2 separate regions of the Homo sapiens genome follow, and region 2 is linked to region 1. The links are contacts of gene promoters, found by promoter capture Hi-C in blood cells and fetal thymus (Javierre and others, 2016). All regions are on one chromosome and are shown on one strand. Each heading gives the region's core, a stretch centred on a gene start or on the middle of the fragment in contact. The rest is flanking DNA. Distances are from core to core; before and after follow the strand shown. Region 1 holds the start of HERPUD2 (HERPUD family member 2). Region 2 holds the start of ELMO1 (engulfment and cell motility 1).

The links. The method cuts DNA at HindIII sites, captures the fragments that hold promoters and counts their contacts. A CHiCAGO score of 5 or more calls a contact.
Region 2: a fragment that was not itself captured here is called in contact with the fragment with the promoter of HERPUD2 in region 1 in 1 of 17 cell types (activated CD4 T cells); the score reaches 5.9 in activated CD4 T cells.

The regions. Positions count from the first base shown.
Region 1 is chr7:35,692,249-35,697,954 of GRCh38, reverse strand. It overlaps HERPUD2 (HERPUD family member 2), which reads left to right and starts at 2,820. Exons shown (of 9, transcript NM_022373.5): 1 at 2,820-3,154; 2 at 3,328-3,771. The coding sequence starts at 3,625. HERPUD2-AS1 (HERPUD2 antisense RNA 1) reads right to left here and starts at 2,749. Exons shown (of 1, transcript NR_136255.1): 1 at 1-2,749. RefSeq lists a silencer at 2,942-3,351 and an enhancer at 2,794-3,681. The HindIII fragment of the contact is 10,108 bases long and covers 1-5,632 here.
Region 2 is chr7:37,443,836-37,449,367 of GRCh38, reverse strand. It overlaps ELMO1 (engulfment and cell motility 1), which reads left to right and starts at 504. Exons shown (of 22, transcript NM_014800.11): 1 at 504-693. RefSeq lists silencers at 755-804, 815-864. The HindIII fragment of the contact is 1,545 bases long and covers 2,448-3,992 here.

The sequences.
Region 1 (5,706 bases), core at 1,571-4,070:
CCTGCCTCGGCCTCCTGAAGTGCTGGGATTAGAGGCAAGCCACTGCGCCCAGCCTTTATTACAATTTTAAATGTTTTTCTCTGTGTTAGCGAACCTTTGATGGACTGTTTTAAAGAGTGTTAAAGAGTGTTTAAATCACTGTGAAATGCACATTCTGTCTTAATATTTATAATTATTAGGGTACCTTCATTAATAGTGTACATTGCATAGTGCCAAACGAGATCACCACATCACTTCTAAAGGATTCCTGGAAGTCTGAGTCACAAGCATGAGACAACAGCTGCAGGACTGGGTGGTGAAGGTTGTGAAAACTTCCTGGCTTAAACAGGAATTTGACCCAAAACAAGAAGTCTTAGGGAAGATAGCTTAGGGCTTGTCTGGTGGCACCACAATGCCATCAAATGCCCAGCCTCTTTACAGTTTTCTGCTCTGCCATCCTTGGAATGCAGGCCATTGTTCTCCTGTTTGTTGTTTCATGACTGAACTATGAGTGCTGTAGCTCTTCACGTTCCTCCTGGAAGACAGGTGTAGGGCAAAGATGAGCTCTGATTCGCAGAGCCCTTCCATCTATATGCTTTCTTAGAAGCCTCAGCAATAAGTTCAACATTCAACTCATTGGCTTGAAGTGTGTCAAATGGCTGCCCCTTGCTTCAAAGGAGTCTGAGAAAATAACTTTAGCTAGAATTAAAGTTCCATTAGAGTGCCTGGGTAGACAAAGAAGAGTCAGCTACAGAAGGCCAGTATCATAGCAAGTTGTTGCTCCATGACTGGAAACAAAGAAGACTTCACTCTTTACTTCAGATGCGCAGTTGATAGAGTACAGCTAAGATATGGTACGTGTTCTACCATGAAGAGCAAGAGCAAGGTGAGGGAGGGTACGGTGTAAGAGATCCTGCTGCATTAGCTGTTGAGAGGAAGAATTTCCTCCTGGTCACTATGTTACTGGGGGTCCTTGCTCCCCAAGTTCCCAAGATGGTGGCAGGTCGCTTCCAAGATGGTGACGGGCCACTTCCGAGATGGTGGCAAGTCTTGTGTTCTCTGACCTGGGGTTCTTGGCCTCATGGATTCCAAGGAATGGAATCTTGGGCCAAGCGGCGAGTGTTATAGCTCTATTAGAAGCTGTGGGTCATGGAAGAGAATCGTGGAACCCAGTGACTAGTGTTTAGCTAGATTAGGACGAACCTGGGCACTTAGCCCTGCAGGAACAAGGGCAAGCCTTTAGCCCGATCAGGAGCAGCAATGGGCGCCTCGCTGGATCCAGAGGGATGGAAGTCAGCTGTGGGTCTGTGACAGCGGCAGACAGCAGTGGTGGACGGTGAGCGAAAGCTCAGCTTGAGCTGTGACACACACGTACCAGAAAAGTGTGCAATTGCAAGATTTAATAGAGTGAAAACAGAGCTTCCATACAAAGGGAGGGGACCCAAAGAGGGTAGCCACCGCTGGCTTGAATGCCTGGGTTTATATCCTGATCATTGTCCCTCCTGTTGTGCTCTCAGGCGATAGATGATTGGCTACTTCTTTACCTCCTGTTTTTCCCTAATTAGCATTTTAGTGAGCTCTCTTTACTACCTGATTGGTCGGGTGTGAGCTAAATTGCAAGCCCCGTGTTTAAAGGTGGACGTGGTCAATTTCCCAGCTAGGCTTAGGGATTCTTAGCCAGCCTAGGAAATCCAACTAGTCCTGTCTCTCAGTACCCCCTCTCAACAGGAAAACCCAAGTGCTATTGGGGAGGTTTGACCACCGCTCTAACTGCTTCCTGCTGAATTGGGGCACAGTAGGGGTTGTGCAGTTGAGATTTCCTCCGTAGGGGTGCCTTGTCTCTCAACTAATTCAGTGGTGGCTACCTCGAAGCCCTTCTGAAGCTAAGAGGGAAAGAGACCAGCTCGCAAAGTCCCCTATGTTATCTACTCCTAAGTGGAAGCTGGGAGCTGTGAAAATGCACATCTAACAACCCTTAACTTACTATACCGACTTCTAAACCACAGTAGAAAATGAAGAAAAGTTCGGCTATGGGCAATAGACTCAACCTTTTGTTCTATGTCTAACCTATAAAATAGAAAAATAATACTGTCATCCCTCATCTCCCACCATACTGAACACGCATTAGGTGCTCAATGAATACTTGTCCATTTTAGTGAAGATTAAGAGGAATGAGACGGAAACTGACACTTGAGAGGCTGGCACACGCCAGAACTGCACCACACTTTGCACTCATAGCTCATTTACTCATCAGCTTGTGGTCAGGTAGGCATTACCGTCCCCATTAGAGAAGTCAACGGAGGCTCAGCAAGGACGGCCAGGGTCCCCCAGAAAGTAGAGGAGGACTTCAGGTTTAACCAAAAGCCTGTACTCTTTACACATGTACCCCATGCCTTCTCCACCAAAGCTCCTGGCACCGTGCTTTGCAGACAGACGACGCTCAACACATTTTGAGCAGAAGCGTGGTTCAGCACCAGGAAGGACACCAACTTTTGCAGAGACGACTCTTGGGATGGAGAAAGACTTCCCAAATCTTCAGGGTGCGGTCAAGACAGGGTAGGCTAGCGCCAGGGGAGCTAGTGGCTAGGCCCCAGGGCAGCTGGGGCCGAGGCCGAGCAAACGGCCAGGGGAGAGGCTCCCAGGAGCCCGATCTGCCGCTGGGCGACGCGAAGCCTGGCGGCTAGAGTCCCGGGCAGCCCGAGCACGGCGGGAAGGCGGCAGCAACAGGATCGGCAGGGATGGCGGGGACGGGGGAGGTCCATGTGCAGGGGCGTGCCGCCGGTGACGCACTTCCGCCCTGCCTGTTCCGGCTTAAAGGGGCCCCAGACAATCCTCGCAATAACAACAAAACCGGCGCGCCAGCGGTGGCGCAACGGCTCTCGTCCCCGCCCTCCTGCTACCTGTAGTCGCCTGGGCCGCCCCCGGCCCAGCCCTGCCTTGCCGCCACCCTGCGCTGTCCAGACTGAGGGGTCAGGCGGAGAGCCGGGCCGCGCCTTCGGTCAGCTTCTCTCCCTTTCACCCGCGCCTCCTCGCGAGACCCGGGGCTGGGCCGTGCCGGTCGCCGCGCAGCAGGAAGGGAGCGGCTGCCACGGAAAACGCCTGGCCGGACGGTGTGGCTGGCGGCCCTGCCTGGGCGCGGAGGGCGGCGGTGGCGGGCCCCGCGGCCTTCTCTCAGGTACCCCAGTGCCCGCTGACCGCCCTGAGCGGCCCAGCTGCTTCCCCGATCCGCACCGCGGGGCCGTGGCGTAGGGGCCTTGTTGCGTTCCAGCTTGGGGGTCGCGGTGGGGCGGGGCAGTGACCCCGGGCCGGCCGTTGTGCCCTCATCCCTCCCACCCTTCCTTCGTATAGCTTCCTTTCTCCTCACGACGGCCTCCACAGTCCGGAGCCCGGCGGAGCCCGGACCTGGCGGGGAGAGCTGCCTCCACGGCCGGGCACCCAGACCCCACCGTCGCAGTCGCCACCACCTCAGTCCATCCTTGGTACCGGCAATGGGCTTCGTATCCTCCAGTGCACTTGTAACTGACTTGGACACGGAATACTAAGAACTCACTTCTGTCCTCATCCCAGTCGCGCCGGCGGTGACCATCTCGGCTCTTTTGGGCTTAACTGCCGCTCCTCTGGACTCTGTCTGACTTTGGGGGCACCATGGACCAAAGTGGGATGGAGATTCCTGTGACCCTCATCATTAAAGCACCGAATCAGAAATACAGTGACCAGACTATTAGCTGCTTCTTGAACTGGACCGTGGGGAAACTAAAAACGCATCTATCTAACGTTTACCCTAGCAAACCAGTAAGTGTGTAAAAGCTGGGGGCAGCTGCTCTGACCAGCAGCTTTTCGTGCCGTGTACCCTCCTTTTTCCTGCTTCTCCCCTCCAGTCTTGAATCAAATAGGTCTCTTTTGGTAGACCGCGAGGTATTTTGAGTTCTGAGGTTGTGTCTCCTGAGTGTTCGAACCATCATTAATATTTTCCTGATGAGGTTCAGTTAATTAGTAAGAGGAAGCAGAAATATCAAGGGACTTAAGAATTGGCAGGCAAAGACCGGGCGCGGTGGCTCACACCTGTAATCCCAGCACTTTGGGAGGCCAAGGCGGGCGGATCACGAGGTCAGGAGTTCGAGACCAGCCTTACCAACATGGTGAAACCCTATGTCTACTGAAAATACAAAAATTAGCTGGGCGTGGTGGCGCATGCTTGTAATCCCAGCTACTCAGGAGGCTGAGGCAGGAGAATCGCTTGAACCCGGGAGGCGGAGGTTGCAGTGAGCCAAGATCGCACCACTGCCCTCCAGCCTGAGTGGCACAGTGAGACTCTGTCTCAAAGAATTGGCAGGCATGGAAAAGGGACTACTTTCTTTGGACTTAAAGTCATCAACCTAATATGCGAGTGAGAGATATATCCTTTCTTAAAAAAAAAAAAGATAAAGCACTACAACCCGTATCAGAGCTTTTATTGCTTATTACACTAAAATTCCATTTTACTTTCAACACTTGGCCCAGAAACTTAAACAGAAATTGAAGATTTTTTTTTCTTAGAAATAAGTATGTGTCCCCTATAAAAATTATACTTTCAAGGTTACTATATATGTTTCAAGGACCAAAGAATTATAAGTTGTAGATTCGTTTTCACCACAACCCCTTTCAACATTTTTCTCCTGTAGAGGATACATGGACATTAGTTTAAAAGAGAACTGCCCTCCACCCCACCACCATTTGGTGCATCCCTCTCATATGGCTTTTCCATTCTGTGTTCCATTCTGAATCATAACTGGATATTGCAGAGATAATAAATAAAATATAGACAGTACAGCTCCATCTGTCCCCAAAGTCAGATTTGAAAGGCCGTGGTTGGTAATCAAGGAGTCTTGGAATAGTTTAGAAAAGAAGTATACCGTCATGTAGAGTACTGTATATGAAAGTGAGGCTTTCGCATTCTCCACTGTATACATTTTTTATTCTTGAATAAGTAGTGTTTAATTACTAAAACTTTTGTTTAATAAAGAGGGTCGGATTTTAGGGTGGGAAATAACTTTTGGCATCAGGTACATTTAAGCATGGATCTGTTGGAAGGCAACTATGCTTTCTACACTTAACACTTGTTTTATGCACCTAAGTTAAGGAAGACACTTGATCTATATTACGATATTAATGAATTATGAGCATTTCAGTGTTGTAGTATTAAGTTTAGTTAGGCTTTTAGACTTGCAGAAGAACCACAGAAATAGGACGGTTATTGCAAAAACAGGAGGTTTAGAAAAACAACTCTTAATCGGCATTAGCTGTGTTTATCAGTACTTTGTGATACAAATATTTTTAGTAGGAGGGAAAAAAAACCCTGAGGAATTTAAGTACTTAAACTAGTTAGAGCCCCTGTTTATTCACATCTTTTGTTTGAAAGTTAAGATTTACACAGGGAGTAAGAATCTGTTTGAAAATACCTTGATTACAAAAGATTTCCTGTTGCATATGATTAGTTTCACACATTTTTGAAGTGGAAAATAGGTTTTTAGGATAGTCAATTGAAAGTCATAGACTTCCATAATACTGTTCATAGCAAATATATGCTCTGGTATGTACGTAGGCGAGATCTTTACATTGTACTATTAAACCAAAAGGGACCTAGTCTGCAGTTTATAGACTTTTTTCTAAAGCTTTTTTAAAAAAAAGTACCTGAGACGGGAGTGGGAAGCCTGTCTGCCTTATCTACCCATGAAGAGGCCTGCTTTT
Region 2 (5,532 bases), core at 1,971-4,470, 1.8 Mb before region 1:
AGCCCACCGAAGTTTCCCCTTAATATCCGGAACCGGTTGCCAAAAATTAAAAAAGGATGTGAAAAGATGCTACTCGCTTTTGGCCTCCCGGAGATGGCGCTATGAGGGTGACGGAGTTAATTAGTGCCTCCAAACGCCGTGTGTGAGCTCATCGAAGTCATGCTCTGCACACATATTATTTATAGCAGATCTGAGGCATGCATGGTGTTTGACATTTCTGTCTTTTAAGTAGGGGGACTTCAAAAAGTCGTGGGCATCCCCCTAGGCAAAGTGCAGTGGGCAGGGACCAGGCAGGGTGCGGGCGCAAGGCGAACGCGCAGACCACGAGTGTCCTGGCGCAGGTGCCGGGGGCGGCGGCTGCAACTCCGCAGCGTCCGCTCGGGAGGAGAGTTCGCGGCTGATCTCCGGATGCCTTGCAGATGCAAAATGTGTCTCTGGCCAGCAGGAGGAAGGAAGAGGAAGTGAGAGCAGCGGCAGCCGGCGGTGCAGCAGCCGGCCGACCCAGAGTGTAAGTGCGTGTGCTGGGGCGAGCGGGAGCGGGCGAGGATGGGCACAGGATAGAGGCAGAGCCACCCACGCCGCCGCGGCCCCACGCTGGGCGACAGAGCCTCCAGTTCCCCTTCAATGGTGGCGGGTCGCCGGAGCTCTGATCGCCGGGAACCCTTGCCGCTGCTGTCCTGCGACCCCAAGCAGGTTCGTAAAGTTTCCTGGGCTGGCGCCGCGCCCCGACTCGCTGACCTCGGCGCGGCAGGGGAGGGGGCCGGGACTGGGGCCGGGAGGAGGCGTCCTGCTCCGGGGGACTCCGGGCGCCGCGGAGACACTTTTGTTTCCTCCCTGGGGGCGCCGCGGCTCGGGCGGGGGTGGCCGCCGCGCTCGGCAGGGTGAGGGCTGCGGGCGCGTCGGGGCGCTCTGCAGTTGGGGAAGTCTGAGCTCCGGGGATGGCGGGAGTGGGAGTGGGAGCGGAGGGAGGGGGCGCTGGAGGTGCGGCGCCCGCGGATGAAGCGCAGGGCCCGGGGCCCGGGAGCCCGCCGAGACATTTCGACCAGGGTCTGCGGGAGGGGGGGCGCGGGAGGGTTGCGACGCTGGCGCGGGGTTACTGGGGACGGGGGATGTGGGGCTGGGATCTTGGAGTCAAGATTCCTATAGAGCTAGAGAAGCGGCTGCGGCTCAGACTCGGCGTCTTCTCCTGCACTCGGGGATGGGAGGGAATCCCCCGGCGAGCGCGCTCGTGGGAGGGGGCGGTGATGGGCCAGAGGAATGGGGGCCAGGAGGGCCGGAGAGGGCGGTCTGGGCAGCCGGGAGCCCCTGAGGTTCTGGTTAGTAAATACTCTCCTCCCGGGGACACACCGGGGTCTCCGCCGAGACCGAGAGAGGCGGCGGGGAGCTTTGTGGAGCTTCGTGGAAATCTCGGCTTCGGAGAGGGGACGCACCGGGCGCGCCTTCAGAGAAGGGGGCGGCGGCATGCCAGGGGGCCCGGGAATCGGAGCGGAGAGTGGCGACTGCGATCGCCGGAGTCGCTTTGAGGAAGAGGAAATACAGAACTCAGCTGTCCCGGGGGTGCGCGCGTGTGTTTGGGGTTGGGAAGTCGGTGCTGTGCCGCGAGCGCGCGCGAGGCGGCGTGTGTGTGTGTGTGTGTGTGTGTGTGTGTGTGTGGTGTGTGCGCGCGCGCGTATGTATGTGTGTGTGGTGTGTCGTCGGTGTGTGTGTGAGTGTGTGTGTGTGGGGGGGGTGTTGTGGGTGTGTGTGTGAGTCGGTGTGTGTGTGTGTGACCGCACAGCCAGGAACTCCCCGCCCAGTGACCCTCTCCCGCCTAGGGGGCCATTTGAAGTTGGAGGCGGGTCGGGACCTGCCTTGACCTAAAGGACCAGCCTCAGGCTTGGTCCCAGGTAGTGACCCAGCTCTGAGAGTCCCTGGACGGCTCCCGAGACTCAGTGAATATATTTGGGATGCCCCCCGCGCTGGATCATGGGCTTCCCAACACCGCTGGCCTTGAATGATTCGGGCCTAATTCGTTATGGTTAAGATTTCAGATAATCTAAGACGGGTTGAGGCCTCCAGAAGCGGAGGCTTCCTGTTGGGCGCTGCCAGTGACTTGGGGATGAAGCTATGGAAGAATATCTGAGTGTTTCTCTTTTGCTTCTATAAAAGTAATTAATGACCTGTATTTACACACCAAAACCCTGCGAGCAACTTTGGGACATAGAGGGATATAATCCTTCTCAGAATCACTTTGAGATTGCAAAAACCGGCAGCAGCTATTATTGGGGTCTCCTCTGGCCAGGGTTCTCATATTATCTCACCTCCATGCCTACTTTCCAAGGTTGTTTCAAGCATTAATGTCCCATAATTTACAGATCTGGGGGAAAATAATGGTAAGTTAGGAGGCCAGATCCCCTGCAGAAACATCACATATTTTTAATTTTTCTTATAGCTGACCTTTTGAAGCTTTACTCTTTATTATTGTACATTTCCTATCTCTGGAAGGCTGTGGTTAAATGTGCATGCTGCCTTGTTTCTACTCTGTTTTGTTTGTTTTTATTAGGTTGGTAAATTTTGAGAAAATGACCTGGACTGCTGGGACTCTTGGGGAGGGGTTGTGTCAGGAGGGTACTGAACTGGAGAACAAGAAGTATGGTAGGTATCAGGGAGGGGCAGGCTCGGAGGCAGACCCGGATGGGAGTCTGGGGAAACTCAGGGCCTGGAGCAGTCATTGGGCAAGAAGATGGGCAGTTCTAGTGATGGTCATGCTTACTGTCCTTGGTAACTGCAGGCACCCTCACCGTCTTACATTCTTCTTTTTCACTGAGTTCTCTCCCTAGGGCCTTTGCCCATGATATTACAGGAGGAGCTTTTCTCCCACATGTCCAGATGACTCACTTCCCCTGCTTCTTTCAGGTCTCTGTCCAGTTGTCAGCTTATAGGGGGCCTTCCCTGGCTACCCCATATAAAATAGCAGCCAGACACTCCCTGGGCCTCTTATGTTACTCAGTTTTTTGTCTTAGTACCTTTTACTCCCTGGCATTATACAGTCATTGGTGTATTTTGAGTATTGTCTCTCTCCCTGTTAGAGCAGAAGTTCCATGAGGGTAGTGACTACCTTGTCTTGTTTACAGCTCCAGAACCTGGATGGATTCTTAGCATGATGTCGGTGCTCAATAAGTGTTTGTTGACTGACTAAATGAGAGGTGGCTATACTGGGAGAGATCCACCAGGGAAATATACCAGGAAAATGTTGCAGCATTAGTGCAAGTGAGAAGCCCAGGTAATGGGCTTTTGCTTTTTTCGCTGTCCTTTCCCCCATGCCAGGCCACTCTTCTTTTAGACTCTGTTCTGCCTTGAGTAGACTCCTCCCTTTTTCTGCCTGAAGAAAGGAACAGAGAGGTGATTCCTTGGGAGATTAGATAACCAGTACACTTAATGACACATAACCATTCCAGATCTGGTGTTTCATCACTCTCCTTGGAGAAGGTCTTTTAAAGAAGTCTGTGTTGCTTTAGCCTAGGAGGAAGGGCATGATTGTAAGGGGATTGAAGTCAGAGGCATCTACTGTGTCCCATTCTGCTCTCCTACAATATGGAAGTGAAGACAGGAGGCTGTAAGGGAGGCTGTGTGGCAGATGCAGGGGAGATGAGAAATGCCTAGGAGAAGAAAAATAAAAGTGAGAAAACATTAAGGTGTTCTGCAGGTGCAGCTAAGTCTTGAACATTTACTAAATTACTATATTGAAAAGAAGCTAACTCTTGAGTGTTTCAAAGTAATTTAACCCCTTTGGGTGTTTGGTGTGAGTGGGTGGGGCGGGTGGGGAAAGGGCTTTGAAGCCTTTGCTGAAGGATGTGGCTGGGGGTGAGGCAAGGAGCTCACCTGATCACACACTGTGCTTACTTCATCAGGTTGCCTAATGCTCAAGGGTTAAAGGTGATCATTCCTATGGAGGTAACATTTCCCTTCCAGATCTAAGACAGTGGATACAATTAAGGTTTGTAACTCAAGCTTGTAACCACTTTTTGGTGCCTGAAACCATCCAAGTAGATAGTTTGGTTTATAAGACATTCTGTTGAATCTGGAAAACGTGGTGGATTAAGAAACCCTCTCTGCATCACAAAGCCTGGAGTGTTTGCTACTAATTGTGCAACTTTAGTTCTGGTTCCTTCTAGTCAACCAGAGAAGTGCTTTTTAAGCTTACGGCTGTAACCCATGAGCGGATCATGATATCACTTTAGTAGGCCAAGACCAGCAGTTTAAAATGTGAAAGAGAAGAGTGGTGTGGAAAACAGCATTTCATAAAACAGACACCCAGTCTTAATGTCAAAGTATTGCTCAGTGTAGGTAACGATTTTAAAAAGCCTGTTTCAATAATTCTGGGGAAAACTACATTTTTAACCAACTTGCCAGGGATTCTGATGACGACGTTCTAGAGGGCTACAAGAAATACTTAGCTATCTCCTTTTAACAAAATACTGTTGGTTTAACCCCCTGCAGGAGATGCTATTTCCAAATGTTGAACCAGATGCAGTTCTGTCGGCTATTGACTTAACTTTTCAAAATGCTACTATTGGCCGGGCGCGGTGGCTCACGCCTCTAATCCCAGCACTTTGGGAGTCCGAGGCGGGTGGATTGCGAGGTCAGGAGATCCAGACCATCCTGGCTAAGGCGGTGAAACCCCGTCTCTATTGAAAATACAAAAAAAATTAGCCGGGCGTGGTAGTGGGTGCCTGTAGTCCCAGCTGCTCTGGAGGCTGAGGTAGGAGAATTGAGTGAACCCGGGAGGCAGAGCTTACAGTGAGCTGAGATTGCGCCACTGCACTCCAGCCTGGGCGACAGAGCAAGACTCCATCTCAAAAAAAAAAATGCCACTATTTGTAGAACTTGCCAGTGCGCTAGGCCCTCATGCTGCCATCTTGGAGGAACTAGAAACTCAAGTGACATGCTTTTCACTTTAGTGATGCAGAAAGGCAGTAGCTCCCTTTGCAATAACTCTTTAACCTTACTTAGAATAAAATCGACAGACTATCCCCTTTTCTCACCAAGTTTTAGTTTAGAACTTTTGAGGTCTTTGGAAATTTACTCTGCTCAACTTCTCCTTTCATATTTTACATCTAGTGTTCCCCACATGAATGATTCTAATTACAAAGACAGTTGTAATCTCTTCTGGAGGCAGCCACACTGCTGGGATGCATGATTAGGTGAAGCATTTTAGCTGACCTGGGCTTGGATTGGCTATCCAAAGAAGAAAGTCAAAGGCTGACAACTCAGCCTGGGCAACATAGCGAGACCACATCTCTCAAAAGTTAAAAAATTAGCTGGGTATGATGGCATGCACCTGTAGTCCCAGCTACTTGGTAGGCTGAGGCAAGAGAATGGCTTGAGTCCAGGAGTCTGAGGCTGCAGTGAGCTGTGATCTCACCACGGTGCTCCAGGTTGGGGGACAGAAAAAGACCCCATCTCTTTAAAAAAAGAGTCTGAGAACTTCTGCACTGTCCATAATAAAAGGATCATGAAGGCCAGTCATTCCACAGGGTGTGGCTCCCAGGA